Linked DNA regions of Homo sapiens: region 1 is linked to region 2. The links are contacts of gene promoters, found by promoter capture Hi-C in blood cells and fetal thymus (Javierre and others, 2016). All regions are on one chromosome and are shown on one strand. The core of a region is centred on a gene start or on the middle of the fragment in contact, and the rest is flanking DNA. Distances in the headings are between cores, read along the strand shown. Region 1 overlaps LOC124900418 (collagen alpha-1(I) chain-like). Region 2 holds the start of KLF2 (KLF transcription factor 2).

Evidence for each region. The method cuts DNA at HindIII sites, captures the fragments that hold promoters and counts their contacts. A CHiCAGO score of 5 or more calls a contact.
Region 1: a contact is called between a fragment that was not itself captured here and the fragment with the promoter of KLF2 in region 2, in 2 of 17 cell types (naive CD4 T cells and non-activated CD4 T cells). The highest score is 7.6, in naive CD4 T cells.

What each region holds. Positions count from the first base shown.
Region 1 is chr19:15,833,279-15,838,919 of GRCh38, forward strand. It overlaps LOC124900418 (collagen alpha-1(I) chain-like), which reads left to right. Exons shown (of 3, transcript XM_047439793.1): 3 at 1,940-4,102. The coding sequence starts at 3,124. The coding sequence ends at 3,729. UCA1 (urothelial cancer associated 1) reads left to right here. Exons shown (of 3, transcript NR_015379.3): 3 at 1,224-3,043. Among named protein-coding and RNA genes, the nearest start is that of UCA1, 7.2 kb to the left of the region's middle. RefSeq lists enhancers at 1,660-2,859, 3,640-3,869, 4,010-4,159 and a silencer at 3,290-3,509. The HindIII fragment of the contact is 1,368 bases long and covers 2,432-3,799 here.
Region 2 is chr19:16,319,929-16,326,127 of GRCh38, forward strand. It overlaps KLF2 (KLF transcription factor 2), which reads left to right and starts at 4,898. Exons shown (of 3, transcript NM_016270.4): 1 at 4,898-5,070; 2 at 5,288-6,104. The coding sequence starts at 4,996. KLF2-DT (KLF2 divergent transcript) reads right to left here and starts at 4,742. Exons shown (of 2, transcript NR_186323.1): 1 at 4,379-4,742. RefSeq lists a promoter at 4,208-5,043, silencers at 4,416-5,145, 5,236-5,485, 5,516-5,565, 6,036-6,125 and enhancers at 4,693-5,465, 5,466-6,199. The HindIII fragment of the contact is 6,001 bases long and covers 3,030-6,199 here.

The DNA of each region.
Region 1 (5,641 bases), core at 1,866-4,365, 490 kb before region 2:
CTTCCCAACAAGCCAAACTGATTGCTTTAACTTGTGCACTCTCTGTCGCCAAAGGAATGCACATTAAAATTTATATTGACTCCTAATATGCTTTCCACATCCTCCACAACCATGCTACCCTTTGGACTGAAAGAGGTTTTCTCACCACACAAGGCTCTTCCATTATCAATACCTCTCTAATAAAGGCCCTCCTTAATGCTGCTCTCTTGCTGGCCAAAGCTGGGTTCATTCATTGTAAAGGACACCAGAAACCAACTGATCTTATTGCTAAAGGAAATGCCTACGCCAACAGGACAGCAAAAGAAACAGCAAATGCCTCCACGCCTGCAAATATTCTAGCCCTCACCCCAAAAGGCTAGTACTTTTCTTTCTTCTCTATCACCCCCACCTACTCCTCTTCTAAAAAACCTGCTCTACCAGTCTTTTCCAACTCAGGGCAAGTGGTTCTTAGATCATGGAAAATTCGTTCTTCCTGCCTCACAAGCCCAGTCTACTCTCTCTTCCCTTCATGACCATTTCCATATAGGATATAAGCCTCTGGCTGGCCTCCTACAGCCCCTCATTTCCATCCCATCATGGAAATCCATCCTTAAAACCATCACCTCTCAATGCTCTGTCTGCCATGCCACCAACCCCCGAGGTCTTCTCAGGCCTCCTCCTTTTCCTACGCATCAGGCTCATGGATTTCCTCCGACACAAGATTGGCAAATTGACTTTATTCATATGCCGCGTGTCTGTAAATTTAAATATCTCCTGGTTTGGGCCAATACCTTCACCGGATGGGTCGAGGCCTTTCCCACTAGCTCTGAAAGGCTACTACAGTCATTTCTTCCCTTCTGACAGATATAATCCCCCAATTTGGCCTCCCTACTTCCACAGTTTCTCAGGCTCTTGGTATTCAGTGGAAACTTCATACCCCCTACCGTCCTCAATCTTCAGGAAAGGTAGAACGGATGAATGGTCTTTTAAAAACACACCTCACCAAGCTCAGCCTCCAACTTAAAAAGGACTGGACAGTACTTTTACCACTTGCCCTCCTCAGAATTAGGGCCTGTCCTTGAGAAGCCACAGGGTACAACCCATTTCAATTTTATATGGATGCACCTTCTTACTCAGCCACAATCTTGTTCCAGACACCAGCCCCCTGGGCAACTATCTTCCAGTCCTCTAGCAGGCTAGACAGGAAATTTGCCAAGCTGCTAATCTTCTCTTGCCTACTCCAGATTCCCAGCCATATGAAGACACCCTAGCTGGACGATCAGTCCTTGTCAAAAGTCTGACCCCTCAAACTCTACAGCCTCAATGGACCAGACCCTACCCGGTCATTTATAGCACACCAACTGCCGTCCATCTGCAGGACCCTCTCCATTGGGTTCACCATTCCAGAATAAAGCCATGCCCATCAGACAGCCAGCTTGATCTCTCCTCTTCCTCCTGGAAGCCACAAGATTAGGCCGAGAGCCGATCAGACAAACAACCTACAACCCTTAAGCTCCTGGCAGCGCCCAGCCAAGGCCATGCTTCCTTGCAACACTCCTTCCAAATGGCCATCCCAGCATGCTTCCAAGCAGGCTTCATCCGTTCCTCTGGACCCTCATCTCTTAAGACCTGCCGCCTATAAAAAGGATTATATCTTGAGACCCTATCCTCTAAAATTTTTTCCACACCCAAAACAAAAAATCTCTGGGTCAAAAGTCTAAAACGCTTAGGCTGGCAACCATCAGATCCTTGCCCATGGTGTCCTCAAGCCTACTCTCATGAAATGGACAACAGTACACGCATATGGGGCCAGTTCCACATATTTGGCAACCAGACCAGCATCCAGGACAACACAAAGTATGTTGTTTGTTGTTAGAGGGCTTGGGACATTTCACTCTTTGCCAGCCTCAGCTTAATCCAGGAGACAAAGATTATTTTCCTTATTATCTCTTCTGCATAGGATCTGCAATCAGAACTATTGAACTTCTCCATTCAGACCGCCACTCACACCTATGGGAAAAGGGTAATGTATCATCGGCTTAGCAACAGGGAATACTATTCGTATGATGGAAAATGGGGACAAAAGGCTTTGGTACATAAAACATTATTCCTTCCTTGGCCTAAAAACTCATCGCCACCTACATTAAAGCTAATATGCCTGATTACTGTTTTTAGAGAACTTATTTTATTAGGGCAGTTCCAAGCTCAAAAATACGCTAACTGGCACCTTGTTAGCTACATAAAAATGCACCCTAGACCCGAAACTTACTAGACTCATTATAAAATTTTCTTTAAGGTGTCCACGCAGTCCCTGGTCACACTTGAAGCAGTCCGGAGAAATATCAGCCCTACCCCAGTAATCCCCAGAAGGAACTTACACTTTTTTTTAATCTTTTCCTACAACTTCATATTTTATAAATAAAAAGACAAAAATGTCAGGCCTGTGAGCTGAAGCTTAGCCATTGTAACCCCTGTGACCTGCACATATCCGTCCAGGTGGCCTGCAGGAGCCAAGAAGTCTGGAGCAGCCGAAAAACCACAAAGAAGTGAAACAGCCAGTTCCTGCCTTAACTAATTAACCCACCTTACGACATTCCACCATTATGACTTGTCCACCATTATGACTTGTTCCTGCCCTGCCCCAACTGATCAATCAACCCTGTGACATTCTTCTCCTGGACAATGAGTCCCATCATCTCTCCACCATGCACCTTGTGACCCCCTCCTCTGCTGAGGATAACCACCTTTAACTGTAACTTTCCACGCCTACCCAAGCCCTATAAAGCTGCCCCTCTCCTATCTCCCTTCACTGACTCTCTTTTCGGACTCAGCCCACTTGCACCCAAGTGAATTAACAGCCTTGTTGCTCACACAAAGCCTGATTGGGTGTCTTCTATACGGACACGCGTGACAGGAACCTCAACCCAAAGGCAGTCTGATGAGGTGTCTAAGATAAAAGTAGCGGCACAAAGGCTTTTGTAAACAGAGGCGTTTCATGTGGTTTTCCTTTCCTTTCCTTATATGTGAAAAGGTGACAGAAAAGAAATCTTCCTAAAAGAGTCAGCCACTGCTCTGTGGAACGATGATCATTTAAATGCCACGTCGATTTGAAACGTACAACAAAGGGACTAACAGTTGAGAACCATGTGGATTGCAGTGGAGACGCTGGCGTTAGAGAATGCGGGGAGGGAAACGTTCATTACAAGATTTACGGCCAGCCCAAGGGGGAGCGAGGCTGGGGGACCGGGTCGCGGAGACCCGGCTTCGCACACCTTTTGGAAGACTCAGGGAGAAGCGGGGGCCGCCTTCGGGGGGAAAGGCGGGACTGGGGAGCCCACAGGCCATGGCTCCTCCCACAGGATCCCCAGGCCGGAGGCGGGATCCCCCCATGATCCTCCCGTGGCCCCCGCACAATCTGGGGAGATGCGGAGCTGCCCAGAGAGGGCTCTGGGGCGACAGTCACTGCGCAGGGACAGGACAGGACTCCCGGAGTCCCAGCTGCCGGCCCAGCCCCACCCTGCGGCCGAGAGGACCGAGGGCCGAGCTGCTCCAGGGGAACTCGGGTCCCAGACCCCGGAGTCGCAGCGGACAGGCCCGGGTCCCGCCACAGCCAGATCCGGCTGGTTCCACCAGCTCCTCCTCCGGTCTCGGGACGTCCGGCCCCGCACACTCAGCATTTCCGGCTTCCGGGTGTCCCGGCGTCCTCCCCTGGGCCTGCTCACGTCGCAGAGGGGCGGCGACGGGGATTAGAGGGGAGGAGGGCCTGCGCGAGCAGCAAAGACCCCAAACCCCAAAAAACAAAGAAACCGCCAGAAACTGAAGCTTCCACAGCCCGCCACGTCCCCCGGCTACGGCTACGCTCCTGATTGGATAGTTAGTACGGCCCCTAGTGCCCCTGATTGGATACCGCTTCAGGTCCCGCCCCCTGGGGTTAGAAAGACAGGAGACCCGAGAAGACACTTGGCTGCGTGGAGCCCAAATGGGCGGTTCCTGGCAACTGGGCTTGTTGTCTTCCTCGTGTCAGGATGTAAAAAGAAAAGTAGAGGTTCTTCTTCAAAGACTTCCTTCTTCATCTAATTAAGAATAAATAGTGTTTGAAATGCTTGGTTTTTGGTGCCATAAAGAAATAGCACTTTAACATTAATTTATTTAGCAAGGCCATTTTTACTCCCTGCAGAAAGGGTACACTCGCCAGCAGTTTTGCCACGAGCGTACACCGAGCAAAGGAGACAGGGTCATTTATAACCTGAGGTGTCCACCCTACTGCTGTGTCCAGTTTCCATTGGCTGGAACGGGACCTCACATTCTGTGTTTGTCCTGATTGGCTAGCAACTTAGAACGTTTTAAAAGAGGCAAAGGTGGAGGAGAACAAAGGAAGAAGGAAGTAACTTGTGGAATGCTGAGAAAGGTAAAAACACCTTCAAATAAGGAAGAGGAAGAGGCTATGACTTAATGCTTGCTTGGACCAGTATAAGCATACCAGGGCAAATATTTGGGCTAAATTGTGGGAGCTAAGAACATAAAGTATATTGATTTCTTTATTATGGCTAGCAGATATTTAAGAATGTTAGCACAGGTCTTTGAATAAATTTTGCTTTTAAGAGAAGTTACTATTTATTCCTAATCGAATGGGAAGGAAAATTTTTGAAGAGGAACCTCTACTTTACTTTTTACAAACAATAACTTGTTTTAGAAGCAACATTTATTTAAAGACTTGTACTAATATTCTTAAATATTTGCTAGCTGTAATAAAGAAATCAATGTACTTTATGTTCCTAGCTTTTACATTTTAGCTTAAATATTTGCTTTGGCATGCTTATACTAGTCTAACCAAGTATTAGGTCGTAGCTTGTTCTTTATTTGAAGGTGTTTTTACTTTTCTTAGCGTTCTACAAGTTACTTCTTTCTTTTGTTTTCTTCTGCTTTTGCCTTTTTAAAAAAAGTTCTAAGTTGCTAGCTGATTGGGATAAATACAGAGTGTGAGGTCTTGTTCCAGCTAATGGTAACTGGACACAGCAGTAGGGTAGACGCGTCAAGTTGTAAATGACCTTGTCTCTTTTGTTCAGTGTACTCTCGTGGCAAAAACTGCTAGCAAGTGTATCTTTTCTGCGGAAAGTAAGAAACTGGCCTTGCTGAAGAAATTAAATTCATGTTCAAGTGCTATTCTTTACAGCGCCCGAGAACAAGCATTTCAAACAAGGACCTCTGGGGATTGGGGGTGGGGGTGGGGTGACATTTGCAAGTGGACACTGGCATTCATCAGTACTCACTGGGCCCTTCCTCTTTCTTCCTCCTGGACTAGGGGAAATTCCACACAGTGTTGTCCATCAAGAAAAATGCCCAGACAAGGCTCAATCATTTTAGGAGGTTTATTTGCCAAAGTTAAGGACATGCACCCCTGACACAGCCTCAGGAAGTTCTGACATGTGCCCAAGGTGGTCAGGGAACAGTTTGGTTTTATACATTTTAGGGAGACATGAGACATCAGTCAATATATATAAGGAGTATTTGGTTCTATCCAGAAAGATGGGGACAATTCGAAGCAGGGAGAGGGCTTCCAGGTCACGGAGAGACAAGTGGTTGCCTTCTCCTGAGTTTCCAATATGCCTTTCCAAAGGAGGCAATCAGAATATGCGTCTATCTCAGTGAGCTGGAGGGATGA
Region 2 (6,199 bases), core at 3,648-6,147:
CACTCTGTTGCCCAGGCTGGAGTGCAGTGAGTGCAATCTCGGCTCACTGCAGCCTCTGCCTTCCAGGCTCAAGCGATCCTCCCACCTCAACCTCCCGAGTAACTGGGACCACAGGTATGCGCCACCATGCCCAGCCAATTTTTGTATTTTTTGTAGCGAGGGGGTCTCACTTTGTTACCCAGGCTGGTCTCAAACTCCTGGGCTCCAGTAATACTCCTGCCTCGGCCTCCCAAAATGTTGGAATTACAGACGTGAGCCACCACACCCAGCCATCTGAGAAAGAATCTGTTCCCTTGGCTAGGTGCAGTGGCTCAAGCCTGTAATCCCAGCACTTTGGGAGGCTGAGGCAGGCAGATCACTTGAGGTCAGAAGCTCAAAACCAGCCTGGCCAACAGGATGAAGCCCCATCTCTACTAAAAATACAAAAATTAACCGGGCATGGTGGCATGCACCTGTAATCCCAGCTACTTGGGAGGCTGAGGCACAAGAATTGTTTGAACCCAAGGGGTGGAGGCTGCAGTGAGCCAAGATCACGCCACTGCACTCCAGCCTGGGCTACAGAGGGAGACTCTATCTAAAAAAAAAAAAAAAGAAACAAAAAGAATCTTTTCCCAGTTTTGCTGCTGGTGGCTCCGGAGATATCCCTGGGCCTGTGGCTGCCTCACTCCAATCTCTGGCCATCTTCACATGCCCTTCTTCTCTGTGTTTGTGTTCCTGCGTCCTTTCTCTCCTAAGGACTCTTGTCGCTGGATCAGGGCACACCTTAATCCAGGATGGTCTCACCTCAAGACGCTTCATGATGTCTGCAGAGAAACTCTTTTTGTTTTTGAGACAGTCTCACTCTGTCGCCCAGGCTGGAGTGCAAGGGTGCGATCTCGGCTCACTGCAACCTCCACCTCTCGGATTCAAGTGATTCTCCTGCCTCAGCCTCCCAAGTAGCTGGGACTACAGGCGCAAGCCACCGTGCCTGGCTAATTTTATATTTTTAGTAGAGACGGGGTTTCCATGTTAGCCAGGCTGGTCTTGAACACCTGACCTCAGGTGATCCACCTGCCTCGGCCTCCCAAAGTGCTTGGATTACAGGCGTGAGCCACTGTGCCCAGCCAAAGAAACTCTTTCTAAATAAGGTCATAGTCACAGGTGCCAGGGATTGAGACTCAGACATTTCTTTGTGGGGCCACTATTTAACCCATTACTCATGGATTGAATTACTCATGGCAAGACCCTGTCTCTACAAACAAAAATCAGCCAGGCATAATGGTGCACATCTGTAGTCCCAGCTGCTTGGGAGGCTGAGCTGGGAGGATGGCTTGAGCCTAGGAGTTTGAGGCTACAGTGAGCCATGACCGCGTCACTGCACTCCAGCCTGGATGACAGAGCAAGACCCTGTGTCAAGATAAATAAATAAATAAACTATGGATTATTATTATTATTAGTTAATAACAATATATTCCTCTCTGCTCAGTAATTGTCACAAATGCACCACACTAATGCAAGATGATAATAGGAGAAAGGTTGGGGTGGTGCGAGGGGTGCTACCTGGGAACGCCGTGTACTTCGTGCTCAATTTTTCTGTAAACCTAAAACTGCTGTAGAAAATAAAAGTCCAGACCAGGCGCTGTGAGTCACGCCTCCCAAATCCCAGCACTTTGGGAGGCCAAGGCGGGCGGATCACTTGAGGTCAGGAGTTTGAGACCAGCCTGGCCAACATGGTGAAACTCTGTCTCTACTAAAACAAAACAAACAAACAAACAAAAATTAGCTGGGCATGGTGGCGGGTGCCTGTAATCCCAGCTACCTAGGAGGCTGAGGCAGGAGAATCCCTGGAACCCGGGAGGCGGAAGCTGCAGTGAGCCAAGATTGAGCCACTGCATTCCAGCCTGGGCAACAGAGCAAGACTCTGTCTCAAAAATAAACAAATAAATAAAGTACGTTAGTTAAGGGAGGTTGAAAAAAAAGAGAGAGAGAGAGACAGGCAGAGACGACGGAGCTTCACAATTGGAAATGGAAAGAAAGGAACGCTGGTCGGGGGCGCAGTGAGCGCAGAGGGGAATGTGCTTGGTGTGTTTCAGGACCCAAACAGAGACAGTGAGAGAGGAGGAAGGCAGAGAGGTACCTCAGACAAGCTGCAGGTGCCAGTGAGCAAGGCTCAGAGGCCCAGGGGACCAAGGTGCTCTCTGACAAACTAGAGGGATGCTGTGGTCAGAGGTCTTTTTTTTTTTTTTTTTCTTTTAATTAGACAGAGTCTTACTCTGTCACCCTGTCACCCAGGCTGGAGTGCAGTGGCACGGTCTCGGCTCACTGCAACCTCCACCTCCCAAGTTCAAGCGATTCTAGCCTCTTCAGTAGCTGGGATTATAGGCACACGCCACCACGCCCGGCTAATTTTTGTATTTTTAGTAGAGACAGGGTTTCACCGTGTTGACCAGGCTAGTCTCCAACTTCTAACCGCAAGTGATCTGCCCGCCTCAGCCTTCCAAAGTGCTGGGATTACAGGTGTGAGCCACTGCGCCCAGCCGACGGTCTTGGCCAAAGCAAAGGAACAAACAAACAAAAACCCTTCCCGGCAGCTGCCCAGGCATCCCATATCCTTGAGGAGAAATTCCTGATTCCCTTAATCTTTCCATCATTATCATACGGGGAAACTGAGGCCCAGAGAAAGGCAATTCAATTCCCAAAGCACACAAGCAGGCCCATCTCCCAAGCGCTGGTAGAGAATTCAGTGTCACACAAGATGTCACCTACTTCCACAACAAAGAAAAGAGCCTGTGTGAACTCACAATAGCCATTTGGGGTAAGGTACTATTCTTATCTGCATTTCGAAGATTGAGGAGGCAAGCCCAAACAGCCAAAGCCACTGGTTCAAGGTCACACAGCGCGTGCTCAGTGGCTGAGGCTGACTCGCAGCCATTTCAGTGGCAACTGCAGAAAGCAAGTTTGTATTCAACTTGAAGTCTCCGGTGACTGGGTTTGGTGGGGGCTGCAGAGGGGACCCTGCAGAGTGCATTTCTGCAGAGGCTGAGAGTCCAAGCTTCCAGGGCAGGAGCTGCCTGCATCCCTCACCACCTGGCTCCAAGTTCCTCCTTGGGATGCTCTTCCTCCCATACCCACATGGTCCCCAATGACTTTTTCACATTAGCTCACATTTCACCCCCTGGGTGAGATTCAGAATTTCCCCATTTTCTCCTTCCCACTCCCTCATCTCACACTCACTTTCTAGTCCCTTCTACTGCTCCATTTTTCTTTTTAAACCCCTATCAGTAAGGCCAGGCGCAATGGCTCACACCTGTAATCCCAGCACTTTGGGAGGCCGAGGCGGGTGGATCGCCTGAGCCCAGGACTTCAAGACCAGCCTGGGCAACATAGTGAGACCCCGTCTCTACAAAAAAATACAAAAAAAAAAATTTAGCCAGGCATGGTGGTGTGCACCTTGTAATCCCAGCTACTTGGGAGGCTAAGGCAGGAGGATCTCTTGAGCGCAGGAGTTCGAGGCTGCAGTGAGCTGTGATTGCACTACTACACTCCAGACTGGGCAACAGAGGGAGACCCTGTCTCAAAAAAACTCAAATGAATAAACCTCTATCCTTCCCTCCTTCACTAAAGTGGAGGTCCCCTAGGGCAGGGATCTTGTCTATCTCTTGGTTACTGTGTCCCCAGTGCCTACCCAGGGCTGGCAGACAGTTGTAACAGGAGTGACAGTCCCTGGCCAGCAGGGATATGGTGTGGGGGACAGAGGTGGAGCATTGAAGGGACCCATTGGGCAGCATTGTCCTCTGATGCCCCCGATGCTGGAGCTGTATTGGGGGAATGACTGTCATCACCGTCCTCTGAGTTACTTAATTCATTTATGGAAGTCAGTAAAGGAACCCAGCCTGCCTGTGCCTGCCGCAACTCCAACTTCTCCCAGCCACCTCTGCCTCAGTTTCCCTGCACTTGACGGGCTTATTGAGGTTGGGGAGGAGGGGGTGGGTGTCTCAAATGTCAAAGATTTAATGTGTCTTGATGTTACCACACAAAAGTTTTGTTTTGTTTGTTTTTTTGAGACAGTCTCCTCTGTCACCCAGGCTGGAGTGTAGTGGTGTGATTGTATCTCACTGCAGCCTCGACCTCCTGGGCTCAAGCGATCCTCCCACCTCAGCCTCCCACTACACCCAGCTAATTTTTTTTATTTTTTAAGAGATGGGGGCCACTGTGTTGCCCAGGCTGGTCTTGAACTCCTGGCCTCGAGTGATCCTCCTGTCTCAGCCTCCCAAAGCGGTGGGATTACAGATGTGACCCACTGCACCAGGTCTACACAAGGTGTTTTTTTTTACAGGGTGATGTGCACACGGTGGGTCCCTCTGGGTGGTCCCACAACAGATGAGGGGCCCAGCCTCACCCATCCATGAATCCTGGAGACTCCAGACTTCCCATCCATCCAGGGTTCTGCAGCCCTCTCTGAGGCTGGAGCCAATCTCCCCTTCCGTCAAGGGATCCGGGGAGACCGCCAAGCCCGGTGCTCCCCTGAGAGTCTCTGAGAGGCCCCGACACCGCCCCCGCTCCAGGTCCCCGGGATGCTCGCGCAGGCGGGAGCCCGGGGCGCCCGGGGGATCCCTGAGCGTCACGCCGCTGTTGTGGAGCGCGTGTTGACAACGTCGCCGGGGAGACGGGCGGGGGCGGGGCCCGGGAGAGGGGGAGGCGCGGCCCTGGCGGCGCGCGAGGGGCCGGGCTGTCAGCGCAAGGCCCAGGCCGCCGCAGTGGCCACGGCCGCTGCCGCCCGCCGGCTTATATACCGCGGCTAAATTTAGGCTGCGCCCGGAGCTCGTCCCCATCCGGGACGCGTTTCCGCCGCCGCCGCTTTGGCCCGGCCCCCGCGCGCGCCGCGCCTATAAGGCTTGGGCGGGCCCGGCCGCGGCCCACAGAGCCGTCCCCGCCCGCCCGCGCCCCGACCAGCCCGGCCTCGGGCAGCCACTCACCGGTGTCCCCGTCCGCGTCCTTTCTCCCCGGGTCCCGGCCATGGCGCTGAGTGAACCCATCCTGCCGTCCTTCTCCACTTTCGCCAGCCCGTGCCGCGAGCGCGGCCTGCAGGAGGTGAGGGCGGCGGGGACGGCGGGGCGGCCGGGACCGTGGGCGGCGGGCTCGGGGTAGTAGAACGTGGGCTGCGGGGTGACAGGACGCGAAGGCGGGGACTGCAGACTCAGGAGAGGAGGATGCGGGCCACGGGGATCGCGGACTTAGGGTGGTAAAAGGCAAGCAGCGCCCCCCGAGCCCCGCCGCCCGCTCACGCCCATTGCCCTGTCGCCCGCAGCGCTGGCCGCGCGCCGAACCCGAGTCCGGCGGCACCGACGACGACCTCAACAGCGTGCTGGACTTCATCCTGTCCATGGGGCTGGATGGCCTGGGCGCCGAGGCCGCCCCGGAGCCGCCGCCGCCGCCCCCGCCGCCTGCGTTCTATTACCCCGAACCCGGCGCGCCCCCGCCCTACAGCGCCCCCGCGGGTGGCCTGGTGTCTGAGCTGCTGCGACCCGAGCTGGATGCGCCGCTGGGGCCCGCACTGCACGGCCGCTTTCTGCTGGCGCCGCCCGGCCGCCTGGTCAAGGCCGAGCCCCCTGAAGCGGACGGCGGCGGCGGCTACGGCTGCGCCCCCGGGCTGACCCGTGGACCGCGCGGCCTCAAGCGCGAGGGCGCCCCGGGCCCGGCGGCTTCGTGCATGCGAGGTCCCGGGGGCCGCCCCCCGCCGCCGCCCGACACACCGCCGCTCAGCCCCGACGGCCCCGCGCGCCTGCCCGCGCCCGGTCCGCGCGCCTCCTTCCCGCCGCCTTTCGGTGGCCCTGGTTTCGGCGCGCCCGGGCCCGGCCTGCATTACGCGCCGCCTGCGCCCCCAGCCTTCGGTCTCTTCGACGACGCGGCCGCCGCCGCGGCAGCCCTGGGCCTGGCGCCCCCCGCCGCCCGCGGTCTCCTCACGCCGCCTGCGTCCCCGCTGGAGCTGCTGGAGGCCAAGCCAAAGCGCGGCCGCCGCTCTTGGCCCCGCAAACGCACCGCCACTCACACCTGCAGCTACGCGGGCTGCGGCAAGACCTACACCAAGAGTTCGCATCTGAAGGCGCATCTGCGCACGCACACAGGTGGGCGGCACGCACGAGCCAGGAGCGCAGGCGGGGGGACGCGGGAGGAGAGGTCGGATTCCCAGCGCGCGCCAGAAAATGAATTTAGGACCTCC